Regions from separate parts of the Homo sapiens genome. Here regions 2, 3 and 4 are each linked to region 1. Evidence: promoter capture Hi-C in 16 types of primary human blood cells and fetal thymus (Javierre and others, 2016). All regions are on one chromosome and are shown on one strand. The core of a region is centred on a gene start or on the middle of the fragment in contact, and the rest is flanking DNA. Distances in the headings are between cores, read along the strand shown.

Region 1 (3,670 bases), core at 325-2,824:
CACGTGGCGCCTCCCGCTACCTGCCGCGTCCGCAGACCCGACCCGGGCCAGGGGGACAACCCCAAGAGCTGAGAGGCGGGCGCACCTCAAGAAGCAAAACTCGAATTTCGCAAGGAGTGAAAAATACGAAGGACGCACAACGGACCTGGCCTCGGGGCAAAGTGGGACTGAGAGCGCTGAGGGCTCTTCGAGGGGAACCCACAGCTGAGGCTCCAACTTGTAGGGAATTTTTAAAAACTCAACACTTGGATTCGACATTGCAGAGGATTTATTTCTTATTTTACACTGCAACTCTGTCCCTGATGGGAAGGGATCGCAGTTGCCTAACTGCCAAACTGCAACAACCCGGGAAGAGTGTGAGCCCAATTAGATTACAAGCCCTAGAGCAAAGGGGATCACAAACCTCCGGGTTTGCTAATCTGCTGGTGCGGAGTTCAGATCTCCGAAGCCTCCCTGGAGTATTTCTAGGACTCTTACCGCTTCCCTTATAACGCTGTGACCCCAGCGAGGATTTTTTTTTTCCTTTAAAGAAAAGCTAAACTGTGCAGTTACCGCAGGAGATTTAAGGAGGAGGAACTGGCGGGGGGAGGGGGGCATTCCGTCTATAAAAAGCGCCTTACAAAGTCCTGAAGTCTGGAAATGACAGCGGAGGATATAAAATAAAAAATTTTAACTCCGATCCAACTTGCCCACCACTCAAGCCTCTGCTTAAATTCGTTTTCTGAGAGTGGGAGAGAACTGACGAAACGATCTTTCCGTGGAAAATTCCAGTTTCGTGCAATCCCGCTTGAACACTCACACACACACACTCTCCTGTCTCACATACACACACACACACACACACACACACATACCCATTCCTTTCAGCTCTTTGTTGTTTGAGACCTTTTCTTCGCTTTTGTAACTGCTCTGAACCTCTTGTTTCTTTTTCAGAAGTAGACGGGAAGGCTAATTGTGGATATATGTAAGCACAACATTTTTTCAGTCATAACTGATAAGTTTCTGAAATGCCTTCTGCATTGCAAACATGTGCATCTTAATAGAAAACATTGCTTTTCTCAATCACTAGTTACAGCCTCACAGCACACAATCCAGGAGAAGGAAAACCTCTTTTCTTCTCTTTGAGAGATCTGCTTGGCTTATTTTCTTCTTTCCCCTTTGGAATGGGGGATAGGAAGGGCTTGAGGGGGTGTTACTAAAAAATTTTAAATGATCCATCGAAACCCCTGCCTTACCTTAGGAAATCGAGCCAGCCATCATGAATGATGGACGGATCCAGCTGCAGAGAGAGGAAGTTCTCATTGACTGTCCTGACTGGGTTCTTGGTGCTCACATCAAGTAGAATCAGGGTCTTTTCCTTCAAACCTGCAGCTCTGTCTACAGGCAAGGGTCTCCTGTCTCCAGCCTGGGAGGAAAGGGAGAGATGGAGCAACAGAGCCAAGTAGAGAGCCCCCGGGGCTAGGCACGCGGGGGGGCGGGAGTTGCTGGAGGGCATGGCTTCAGGGAAGGCACAAAGCACCCTCATTCAATCCCTCTGATTTAAACCTCTCTTCCTACTGGGTCTCGCTAGTGACTAATTGTCCTTATCTAAAGTGTGTGTCTGTCCGCCTTTTTCCCCCCTTTTTTTCCCTTCCTCCCACCACCCCCCCAACACACACACACTCTCTCTCTCTCCCGCTCTCTCTCTCTCTCGCTCGCTCGCTCGCTCGTTTTGTTTTTTTCTTTTTTTTTTTTAATTTTTTTTAATTTTTTTTTTCAGTGTTTTGGTGCTGGTGGAGCGAACTCACGCCCCTAGCCAGCCTTCCCCGTGACTCTTGCCAAGAGAACTCGTACACCGGCACCGCCCCTTTAAGAGATTTCTACTGCAGACATTTTTTAACTTTTTAAAGGTAAGGGGAGGGGAGCAGGCGGGAAGGAGGAGAAAAGGGTGGCGTTGTACCCTCCTAATTTAACCCTCTAGGGTCAGGAAGCAGAGGGAGGAATCCAAACCATGCCGTTGTACCGTCTGGGTACAGAGCAAAGGGTCTCGTTTTTACGTCCTTCCCTGAGAGGCTCTGGAGGGCGGTTCAAGCTCCGACTCCGACCCGAAAGCCCCAGCGCCAACCCGGGACGCGCTGGGATAGAGTTCCCACCGACAGCACGCTTGTTTCTCCTGACAGCGTCAGGCACTTCGTCCGCTCAGGGCCCTTTTCTGGTTGAAGCAGCAATACCAAGGGCGGTTAAGTTGCAGAGGGGTCTTGAGGCGGTGATTCCTGTCAAAGCATAGAGCCCTGAAGGACATTCCCCGAAGAGGAGCCCTGATCTCTGTGACGCGTTGGATAGCCACACCGAAGCATCCTCTGACCTCCATAGGGCAAAGAGTAGCAAGAAGGAAAAACATAGTGACCTGGTCAAGCAGCTTTTCCGATCCGAGGGCCAAAAGGGACATGCGCCCTCGCTCTGCTCTGCTCTTCCCGCAACCGAGGAATAAGCGTCTTGGGAGCGTCAATACATGCTGGCTTTGGCCAAGTCGAAGCTACCTGAGCTGTGCTTGGATAGTCAGGGCGGCTCTGCGTCCAACTGTGCCACTTCTTGGCCACTCTATTCTGCTGCACAGGTAGAGTCCCCCCTCCAGACCCTCCTGGAGGTCAATCCTATACTTAGCCCTCCTGCAGGGAAGTGCGCCTTTACAGTGCCAGATGGGACCATAGTGACACTTTCGGGTTTCCATCTCGGCCCCCAGTCAAAACCAGAGTCACATAGCCCTGGATGGGGAATAACAGCCGGAAGCCGCTGTGATGCACGACCCGCCGCTGCTCATTGAGCTTCCACCCCACAACAGCTTGCAAATTGAACTCTAGGTCCTATCCTGAAGCGCGGGAAAGGGATCAGGCACAGTTTGCTGCAGTCACATTGCTGGGCCCCACTTTCGGCTTCTTTCTGAGACAAAATGGGACTTCTACTTGGCAGATGAAGGGAACTACTTTATGTAGTGCGGGCAGTCAGAAACGCAGAAGCGTCCAGGGCCCTCCTTGGTATCAAACAAGCAAAACCCTAAAATGCAGAGCAAGGGTTTTCCCCAGAAGTGGATGGACAAGGGTTAGTCTTAAAGCCCAGCAAACGCTGTAATAGCAACCTGTATCCTCTTACCTCCACCCAGACCAGGATTAACAAATCTGAAAACAGCTGGAATAGATGACCTTCAACTGAAGTTCCCTGAAAAGCCTCTACCAACCTAAGCACCCAGGAAATCGAGATTATGTTGCATTCATCTGTGAAGCGCCATGACGACCTTCTAGAAATAGGACTGCATAAGATGAGGATATGGGAGAAAGCAAATGCAAGTCATATTATTTAAAGATGATTTTTTTAAATCAAGCTGTTACATAGTGAAGTATTGGATGTTGGCTCCAGCCCTAAGGCCTGTTTCCTTCAGTTCCTGAACATTTCTAAGACATCTAGATCCTTTAAACTGTGTGTGTGTGTCTGTGTATGGGTGTGTGGTGTGACATAAATTTCAGTCGAAATTCTTGTAATTTTTAAGTATGTATTGAGCACCTCTTAGAGATGGCAACAGCCTGGCGGGCAAACACTTTTGCCTTTGTGTTCCCAGACTGGAGCACTTAGTAGGCACTCAATAAATTCTGTGAAGTAAATTAATGGTAAATCCAATCATGCTCAACACACTGAA
Region 2 (3,446 bases), core at 946-3,445, 820 kb before region 1:
AAGCTTACAATTAAATAAATTAAAAACAAAGGTAATAAATACTCAAAACACACTACCTCCTATTTGTTTTACTACATTTGACTGTTGCCCATGCCCTGGCAGTCACTGGCCTCTATGTACATATCTGCATGGTGGACACACTATACAATGATGTGCTACTGGGTATCTCTCCTAAATCACATTGAGCAACCTCATCTTGGTAACAGAAAAGGCTATGGTGGGAGTATTTACACCACTGTCATCAGCAAATATTACACAGAAGGGCTGAATTTATTTTTTGTGGTCAGGCTTAAGAAAGTGATGGGAAAATGCTAATAATGCAGATTAAACCTAACAGTGTTAGCTGTTATAGCATGAATAAATAGCACAAAAATTGAAGGAAATATTCTAGTATTAGAACAATATTATCTTATTTGAGTAACATCATTCCTGTCATTTAAAGAAGGAGGCCGGGCGCAGTGGCTCACACCTGTAATCCCAGCCCTTTGGGAGGCTGAGGCAGGTGGATCACAAGGCCAGGAGTTTGAGATCAGCCTCGCCAACATGGTGAAACCCCGTCTCTACTAAAAATACAAAAATTAGCCGGGCGTGGTGGTGGGCGCCTGTAGTCCCAGCTACTCGGGAGGCTGAGGCAAGAGAATCGCTTGAACCCAGGAGGCGGAGGTTGCAGTGAGCCGAGATTGCGCCGCTGCACTCCAGCCTGGGCAACAGAGCAAGACTCCATCTCAATAAATGAATAAATAAATAAAATAAAAATAAATTTTAAAAAATAAAGGAGTAAGGTTGGGACATAAATCTTTGTTGTTTCATTTGTTTCACGATCATCCTACTCTTTACAGAAAATATGGAGCACCGTTCTCTTTGGAGCTACCCTCATTTGTCATTTGCAACTATAGGTTGGCTACTGAGTTTGGCAAAAATCAAAGAAAGCCTTTGGTAAGAATCACTCGGGTAGACTGCATTTAAATTGAGAGTATTGTATCTTTATTTGTAAAATTGTGTGCAGTGTATCTTTTATTTCAATATTTAAAATAAGCATGTGTATATGTGTATATATATGTACGTAACACATATACATATATATACACATATATGTGTGTATATATACATATATATACATGTACACACACACATACATCACACATTTTTCCCTGGAGAGGTGAGTGTTGAGTATCTACCAGCTCGCAACTGCTCTAGTACATATGAAAATGAAGGCATGCCCTCAAAGCTGCATGTTGAGTGCCGTCTGCTTTCGGTCCCGTCATTATCTCTGTATAGACCCAGTTGGCAATCATGCATTTGGGGCCCTCTGCAAGTGTGAAAGGAAGGCACTAAGGAAAGACCACCTGGTCCTGGGCCTGCCTCTTCCCCTAGCACCCAGTAGACTGTGATACTCTGAGCCCAGGGGTTGGCAAAGTGTGGCAGATCACTGCAGATCCCCAAATGTCCCAGAGCTGCAAGGCAATGGGGTCCATCTCCCTCTGCAGACACGCAGTAGGAACTCTGGGACTCAGTTCTGTTTTATCCTAACTGGCCTTTATGAAATGACTGCAGTTTCTTGTGACGAGGGGTGGCCTCAGTGGTAAGGTAGTGGTGACCAGAACTCAGGGCACTGAGGGGGCGGGGTGCTGGATTTCACTTGTCTGTTGGCCCAGGGCTCTTTCCAACCCTTACAAACCATAGGCTGAGAATGTGGTGGAAACTAGGTCACTTTGCAAGAGATATAGGGAAACCCCTGAGCTCACCTAGTCTTCCTGTCATTCTCCATGGGAAGATCCAAGCCCAGAGAAGGCAAGCATTTGCCCCAGGCCACACAGCAGAGCCAGCACCGGAATCCCAGGTGCCTGCCTGCCAGATGGAAGGGCTTTCCATTGCAGCCCCTGCTAGCGTATAAACTTCTGGCTGGGTTATGCCAGAGGAGAGAGCAGTGGGGCTTGGCTCCCCCTCCCCCTCCCCACCAAGCTCTGAGCAGGGCTGTCTTCCCGCCCCTCAGCTCTGGCCCGGCCTGCTTTACCACTTTACCTGCTCCTATCACCACCGCATCATACTCAGGCTTCAGACCTCCCCTGGCTTCCGTGTTATCTCGTCTCCACGCCGGGAAGGGAGAGGCGGCCACAGCCTTGCAGAGACCTCGGCCACTTGCAGCCATTTCTGCCCCAGGCTGGGCCTTGCTAGGCAGGGAGTTTGCTAGCGATTGGCTTTTGTGCTGCCCTAGGCACGGGGTGGAGCAGGGAGGAAGCAGGAAGAGGAGGAGCTGCAGTCCCCCTCCAGGCCCCCTCCACCATGCATTCTTGGCCACAGGCCAGCCTCCTGCTGCCCTGGGGCTGTGCTGGGCCGTCGGGAGTGTTGCCTATTAACCAGGCGGTGTCACCTCCAGGATGCAGGGGATAATGGCAAAACTGACAATCCACTGGGGTTCCTATGTCAGGCTGGCATTGTGCTGAACCCTGTAGGCAAAACTCCCCATTTTACAGATGAGGGCGCTGAGGCTGCGGGGTTAGGGAATGAGTGGTGGAGGCAGAGTGGAGCTCGAAAGGGCCCTCTCCTCCCCTGTGCATCTACCTTCTCAGTCAGAACTGAAACGCCTGGGATGGCAAGTGCTCGTGTCAGACTCTGCTCCAACTCCATGCTGAGTCTGCCAGTGCAGAGTGGTGATGCCTCTACGCCCACAGGAGGCGCCCAGGGCGGCCATCTAGCGTCACCACGACCAGGGCCTTCAGACACCGCAGAGGCAGCTGTGTCTGTCGCTGAGGAGCACTGGAGTCCTCTCCTAAATGCTCAAACACAAACCCACAACGAGGGCTTAGGGGCAAGTTCGCTGTCTGTAATTCTCTGGTGTTTTAGTTTTGAAGGCCTGGCCAGTTCTCCTCTTTTGGCACCTTGCCCATTTTCCAAGAATCCCCAAGGATTCGAGGTCACATCTGTAAATACCTCCAGCTAAAGTTCTTTCTGACCCTCCCTTAGGCCTGCCTTGAATTAGGAGCCCCTTTGTTCTCTGCCCATTACTTAGCAGAGTGTTCCCCTAGGAGGAAAAAACCCCTTGGAGCGGAGAGTTCCTGCACTGCTCTGATATCGCAGTGTGACGGAAACCTGCTATTGGTAACGAATCTCAGAACTGGGAGAGTATGTGGAGATGATCCTAAGAGGGGGTTCCGAGGACCCCTCCACACACCATGGACAGTTACCCCGCATGTGAGCATCTCTGCTAAGATCTGATTCAGGATGTTCACTCCTGTGTTATTTATTATATAGAAAGATCAAGGGGACTGGTTAAACTAGACATATCACATCCAGCCGCTGCTAAAAACTAAAGGGAAATAGTAGGTGACAAAAGCAGGGGTCCTGAACAGTGGTGGGCTCAGGGGATTGGAGTTTTTTCCTTTATGTTTTTCTGTATTTTCCACAATCCACGCTTTTCATTGCCATTCCATCAGATGATGTTAAGG
Region 3 (3,643 bases), core at 816-3,315, 590 kb before region 1:
AACATGTCCTTTGCCTCATCCCTTGTATAGATGCCAGACTCAGATCCAATAAACATTTATTATGTGCAACACATAGTGCTGGGCATATCCATGTCCATTATCCTATCTCATAACCTGTTCATAGTAGTACTTCTTCATTAGCACCTCTGATTTTTGGAAAAAGATCAGATACTTAATTAGCACCTCTGATTTTTGAAAAAAAGATCAGATACATGGCATACTACATGAAAGCCAGGCATGTTGAGACAGAGTAGTGTTAAAATTAAAAATAATTTATGCAATGCTAATCTAACACACATTTGAGGACATGAATACTTGCTACTATATTATATGGTGACCAGGAATTTGACAAGTAATGCATTGTAATTATTCTTTTATTATTTAATCAAATATATTACACTTTCCTCTTTTCTCAATTAGTTCCCAGTAACTACATTACACATCAGTATTTATAATTTTTGTTAGCAACACACATAGTTTAATACCTATTGAGATAAAAATTCCAGATGTAATTTTTCAGTAGGTAGGATTTCCTGTGAAGAACCTCCCTAGCCTACCCCAATCTGTGGCCCATGGTTGAGGGTCCCTTCATTCTTTTCCTCCTTCCTTTTCTCAAGTACCCAGAATCTGGAGTTAGAAAACCTTGGTTCAATCCCTTCTTTAAAGTGGGTTTTAAAAAACCCAAATCTACAATATTTTCACAGGGTTGGTGTACTGATCACATAAGCAAAAATGCTGGGCACGGGACCTGTCATATAAAAGCTATTCAATAACCAGATCTACTCTGTTCAGATTACTTAAGGGCCCAAGGCAGCAGAAACTTACACTGAAAGGCCATGGGATGGGATGGGCAGGGGAGCATCCCTCTGGAGGAGAGCATGCTATCCGCTGTAGAACTTGGAGTGAGGAAAGTGTAGAGCAGCAAGAACAGATGCTGGATTCCCAGCAGGTGTGAGGCAGAGGCAGGGATGGAGATGGCTGTGATTATGTTGTAAAAATTTGGAGTTTGAAAAGACCTTACTGGTCAGCTGGCCTAAAGCATGTAAGCTTGCTACAATATCCCTTAGAAGTGATTTTCTGGCTTTGCTTGAACATATCCAGGGACAAGAATTCACTGTCATACACTACTAGGACTGCTTCACTGCATCACAGCTCTAATTGACGAAAAGCTCTTCTGACATGGTGCTGAAATCTGATCCCTGTTACTTCCTCTCAATGGCTAGCATTATATCTTCTTGAACCCAGAAATGGTCCAATTGCTCCTTCATGTGATACATGGGAGATGAAATCCAGCAACCTTGGCTTAAGCAGTTTAGCCTATTCTTGTCCCCAGTTTTACCCTTACAAGCTGTATCCAATCATTCTCAGGTAATCTTGGGCTATTTCCGTGGGCTGTGAATTGGATTGGAGCGGGAGGAGATACAGGCATGGAAACCAATAAATAAAGTTATTTTATCTCAATAGTGCTGGCAAGAAATGATCTGGGTCTAAATAAGGGAGGGAACAAGAAAAGTGAAAGCAAGCAGAGATGAAGGAAGAACAAATAAAGCTTCTGTAGAGGGTAAAAGAGAGGAAGGGAGTCACTGATGACCATCAACATATAAGAGAGATTGCCTTGGAGAACACTGTTGCCAAAGAGATGTAGGTTAGTCATACAGGAATACAATTTGTTTAGAGAGATGAAAGATACTGTCTGACATATCAAAAATATACAGAATATCAAGAAAGAACTATATACCACGTAGCTGGGGATATAAGAAAGAGGTACAGAGAAAAGTTGAGACAAGAAATGTTGACGTGGGGGTCTTTTTCAGGTTGTAAGTAATGGCCAAAGCCATGGCTGCAGATGAACTCTTCAAGAGAATAAGGGAAATTAACAGAGATGTCAGAGACCCTTCAAAATGCTTCTAAAATATGGCCCTGGGCATTGCCTCTACCTTTGACCCAGCTAAGGACCCCTTCCTCCTCTAGCCTGATGATCACAGCATCTTTTTAATAACTTCAGTCTGAGTCCAATTCACATTTGAATGTCAAAGGAATCCTCACATTATACTGAGAAGTTTCAGCAACTTTCATTTGCAAACTTAAACCCACATTTATATTGTACTATGGAAATATGAACTTTGGTCATCCAGAATTCAGTATCACTTTTAAGAGAGGGGATCATTTAACCATAGGGTATGGCCAGGCGTGGTGGCTCAAGCCTGTAATCCCAGCACTTTGGGAGGCTGAGGCGGGCGGATCATGAGGTCAGGAGATCAAGACCATCCTGGCTAACATGGTGAAACCCCGTCTCTACTAAAAATACAATTAGCCGGGGCGTGGTGGGGGGCGCCTGTAGTCCCAGCTACTCCGGAGGCTGAGTCAGGAGAATGGCGTGAACCCGGGAGGCGGAGCTTGCAGTGAGCCGAGATTGTGCCACTGTACCCCAGCCTGGGCAACAGAGCAAGACTAGGTCTCAAAACAAAACAAAAACAAACAAACAAAGAAAAACCCATAGGGTATGAATTTATCAATGCCTAAACCTTTTTCTTAGATATGCTTGGACAACTAACTTACTGTACTTACCCATTGTAAATGTGAAGCTTCTAAGAAAACATTCAGCATCAACAATCCGTGGCTATTTGAAAGCTTCTTCCCAGTTACAGAGCTTTGGTTCACTGATGGTAGTTGCATGTGGTGATAGGTCCAATATAAATATATCATTTATATTTGGGCATGAAGGAGATGGAGTAGTCTGTGGTGACCATTTTATAAGAATAAATTGCTAAAAATGATGATAATGGTGATTTCTTTTTTTCTTTTTTCTTTTTTTTTTTTTAAAAAAACCCTGGCTGAATGGTCTAGAATTACCTAGACTGACACTTTTAGGTATATCATGGTCATCCTCCAAGCTCTCTTGAAATTCAGCATCACTTAAGATCATACCACAAGTCGTCGAGCTGTTCCACTAAAAACCAAAGCCAAGAAAGGCTGTGTAGAAATAACCTTTCTGGGAACTATCACAAAGGTAATGAAGTTGAAACTTTTGTATTAATACATCATCAAAAGGTCTGTCTCACCCAATGCCAGCAATTCATTCCTACCTCTAGATTGGCAGGTCATATCAAGCATATCTCTGGGGAAGTGGCAAAGATAGCAGACTATACAAAGTAAAAGGAACCACTTATCAATGTATTCACCAACTCTCCTGTCCCCCTTAATTTTACATTTTAGTTCCAGTACAATAATCTTCATCTTATTTTATTTGGTGTTGCCCTTTATTTTTATTACAAAAGAACTAAATGCTCATTGTAGACGAATTAGAGAATGAACATGAACAAAATAGAAATAGGAAAATGGAAAATCACCTACAGTATAATAAGCACAACACCTAGAGAAGCTCATTGCAACATTTTGCTGCATACTCTTCCAGTTTTTCATAGTAAATAAACATAAAATTTCCCCTAATTAGTTTTTTAATAAACCTGTACTCCAGATCCTATTCAACTAGCATTTAAACTTAAAATTGCTCCAAATGAGACATCCAAGCCCATCTCACAGGGATACTGTTAGCAAGATTACAGACTCCCAGTCAAAGCATCTTACTCTTATTTTAATTTCATTCTGGCCATTTAGAGGTCCTCTGCCAGGAGCAGAGCTC
Region 4 (3,274 bases), core at 377-2,876, 610 kb before region 1:
CACAGAACTAGCAGATAAACATTTATGTGGGTCCTTCTACGGTGATGCATGAATTCAGAGGAACTAGTGCCAATTATTCTTACGGTTTGGTGGTAGGATTCTGAACTACCATTTTCGATCCAAGTAAGAAATTCAGGAAATTTCCTAGAAACCTTGAACCATTAGCTCTTTGAAGGCAGGGAATACTTTTATTCACTTTTGTATTTACTTCCTATCAGAATGCCTGGCACAGAGTAAGTGCTTCACAGGAGACTGTGTGTAACACAAAGAAGTTAATGCAATTCCATACCTGCCCTTGCACAAGCTTACAGTAAACTGCTACTCCTTAAGGAAGTCATGTGACCTGATAAAGGGCGACTAAAACCTGATCAAAGAATTGGAAGCAATATGCTGACTGCAAAAACGACCTTAGAGATCAGGAAAAACATAAAATGAAAACCTATTACAACATGAAAGATCTAGAGAAGAGCAACATGCTTATTTGCCAAATCTCAGGATATCAGGCCTGGGGTTTTCTCCTTGATCTGAGAAGGAAAAGGAAAATTGTGCTTTGCTTAGCAGGTAATTTATGTATGGAATCCAATAACCTCAGAAGTGTTAAAGGTCAATTACCATACAAGGTGATTTGGATACCAGAAGGATTTTATGTGTTATCAAGCTCGTTATAATATTCTGATATTAAGAAAAGAAACAATCATGTATTTCCACATTTATCACTTGAGGATGTTTGCTGTAAGTACAATAAGTCTTCACTTAAAGTCATCAATAGGTCCTTGGAAACGGCAACTTTAAGCAAAAGAACGTATAATATAACCAATGTTGCTATAGGCTAAATGATACTAATAAGAATTAAGTTCCTATGACATATTTCTGGTCACAAAAACATCACCGAATTTCTAAATAAAGACCCCAAAACTTTTCATACTAATCACTGAAATAAGTGTGATCTATATACACATTTAAAACACATGAATAGGCCGGGCGTGGTGGCTCACACCTGTAATCCCAGCACTTTGGGAGGCCGAGGTGGGCGGATCTCAAGGTCAAGAGATAGAGACCAGCCTGGCTAACACGGTGAAACCCCGTTTCTACTAAAAATGCAAAAACAAAATTAGCTGGGTGTGGTGGCGGGTGCCTGTAGTTCCAGCTACTTGGGAGCCTGAGGCGGAAGAACTGCGTGAACCTGGGAGGAGGAGCTTGCAGTGAGCCGAGATCGCACCACTACACTCCAGCCTGGGCGACAGAGCGAGACTCCGTCTCAAAAAAAAAAAAGAAAAAGAAAAAAGAAAAAAGATGAATAAAAACAAGTAAGAAAATTACTTACCCAATTTTTGGTGAATCAGTGAGTGGCGGTAGTCATGGAGGTGGGGGGTTAAATCAAGGAATTTGTTTGCAAAGCAAAAAGGAGCACCTCCTACCACCAGGAAGTTCAAAAACAATCACAAATATGACAGACTTGTTGTGTGCTTTAGTGCCACATCGTTTATTGTACATTTGTATAATTATTGTAGACTTTACAAATTTTTATTTTACAATAATTTTTATTCATTCATTCATTTATTTTCCAACCCGCTTATACCAGTTCAGGGTTGAGAGTAGCCAGAGCCTATCTCAGAGGCTCAGAGTGCAAGGTGAGAACCAGCCATGGACAGGTTACCATTCCATTGCAGGGCCACTCATACCCACGCCCATACTCACTTGGACAGGGACCATTTAGACACCCAAGAAACCTAATGCAGTCTACATATTTGCAGGAGTATCCGGAGAAAACCCAAACAGACAGTGGCCCCAGCTGGGAATTGATTTTTTTTCCATCAATATTATAATAAAATGATGTTAAATGAAATGAAATTATTCAAGAACCTACTGTACTTAGTTGGATGGTGGCATGCCCAACTCAGAGGGGTGATTTGTATGAGATATTATTTTTCTTTTTTTTTTTCTCAAGACGGAGTCTCGCTCTGTTGCCCAGGCTGGAGTGCACTGGTGCAATCTCGGCTCACTTGCAAGCTCCCCCTCCTGGGTTCACGCCATTCTCCTGCTTCAGCCTCCTGAGTAGCTGAGACTACAGGTGCCCACCACCACGCCCAGCTAATTTTTTGTATTTTTAGTAGAGATGGGGTTTCACCGTGTTAGCCAGGACGGTCTCAATCTCCTGACGTCGTGATCCGCCCACCTCAGCCTCTCAAAGTGCTGGGATTACAGGCATGAGCCACCGCACCCGGCCGAGATGATTATTTTTCAAAAGGAGTTCAAACTCTAGCTCCTTTAAGTGAGGACTTGATTCCAGAAAACGGTTGGATTTATAAAATACTGTGTCTACAAGACCCTTCAAGGACATAGACTCTGTGTAAATAAAAGTTACGCCTGTAGCCCTACTACTTGGGAGGCTGAGGTAGGAGGATCACTTGAGGCCAGGAGTTTGAGACCAGCCTGGGCAACACAGCTAAATTCCTTGTCTCAAAAAAGAAAAACAAAAAATTAGCCAATCATGGTGGCTTGTGCCTGTAGTCCCAGCTACTCAGGAGGCTGAGGCAGGAGGCAGTGAGTTTTGTTCACACTACTGCACTCCAGCCTGCATGAGAGTCTCTTAAAAAATAAAAAATAAAAAAGTTAATCAGAATTCTCTTCTGACTTGCAGGGAGATTTGAAAGGAAACAATCTAAAATTGAGGAACAGTTAGGGGCATGGACTCTGGAGATGGATTGCCTGCATTTGAATTCTGGTTCTATTATTTACTTACTGCATGACTTTGAATGAGTTGTATTACCTGTCTGTGTTTCAATTTTCTCAGCTGTAAAATCAGAATCATATCTGCCTTAGAGGATTTTATGATATTTAAATTATATAATATTTATAAAGCAGTTGAAGTAGTGTCTGGCATATAGTAAGCACTTAGAGGTGTAAACCAAAATATTACCTAGACCACTCTCCTTGTCCAAGGCACATAAGCTTGTGTTTGAATGAATAACATCAGAGTTGGTTGTTTTTCCTTCAGACGTAGGACTTGTGGTGATAGGTAATAGCCCAGATGCATGCTAAGCAGCAGGAAAGGCCAGTTTAGAATTTAAAATGCACATGGATAACTCACACAAACATAATTATCATTCAGAGTAGTTCATTTATCCATTCTCAGCACAGGGGTAATTCCTGTCAAGCCACATGAACAAATATACACAGTGAGGAACAACTTTGATACAAAAACTAAACCAGTTATATGAAATGTTTTTTGGGGAAATATTTCTAGAAATTATTAATGTTAAAGGTTCTAGGA

Evidence for each region. Contacts are between HindIII fragments. The CHiCAGO score rates a contact against its expected background, and 5 or more counts as called.
Region 2: the fragment with the promoter of PYROXD2 here is called in contact with the fragment with the promoter of HPSE2 in region 1 in 3 of 17 cell types (megakaryocytes, M1 macrophages and total CD4 T cells); the score reaches 6.5 in megakaryocytes.
Region 3: a contact is called between a fragment that was not itself captured here and the fragment with the promoter of HPSE2 in region 1, in 1 of 17 cell types (M1 macrophages). The highest score is 5.0, in M1 macrophages.
Region 4: a contact is called between a fragment that was not itself captured here and the fragment with the promoter of HPSE2 in region 1, in 1 of 17 cell types (M1 macrophages). The highest score is 5.9, in M1 macrophages.

Annotation. Positions count from the first base shown.
Region 1 is chr10:99,234,278-99,237,947 of GRCh38, forward strand. It overlaps HPSE2 (heparanase 2 (inactive)), which reads right to left and starts at 1,575. Exons shown (of 12, transcript NM_021828.5): 1 at 1,236-1,575. The coding sequence starts at 1,525. RefSeq lists a silencer at 1-4 and enhancers at 2,152-2,652, 2,653-3,153. The HindIII fragment of the contact is 7,443 bases long and covers 1-3,670 here.
Region 2 is chr10:98,412,987-98,416,432 of GRCh38, forward strand. PYROXD2 (pyridine nucleotide-disulphide oxidoreductase domain 2) reads right to left here and starts at 2,196. Exons shown (of 16, transcript NM_032709.3): 1 at 2,023-2,196. The coding sequence starts at 2,149. HPS1 (HPS1 biogenesis of lysosomal organelles complex 3 subunit 1) reads right to left here. Exons shown (of 20, transcript NM_000195.5): 20 at 3,212-3,446. The HindIII fragment of the contact is 3,850 bases long and covers 2-3,446 here.
Region 3 is chr10:98,643,515-98,647,157 of GRCh38, forward strand. The region is part of intron 6 of HPSE2 (heparanase 2 (inactive)); the gene reads right to left. Among named protein-coding and RNA genes, the nearest start is that of HPS1, 200 kb to the left of the region's middle. The HindIII fragment of the contact is 1,036 bases long and covers 1,548-2,583 here.
Region 4 is chr10:98,624,846-98,628,119 of GRCh38, forward strand. All of the region lies in intron 7 of HPSE2 (heparanase 2 (inactive)), which reads right to left. Among named protein-coding and RNA genes, the nearest start is that of HPS1, 180 kb to the left of the region's middle. The HindIII fragment of the contact is 2,648 bases long and covers 303-2,950 here.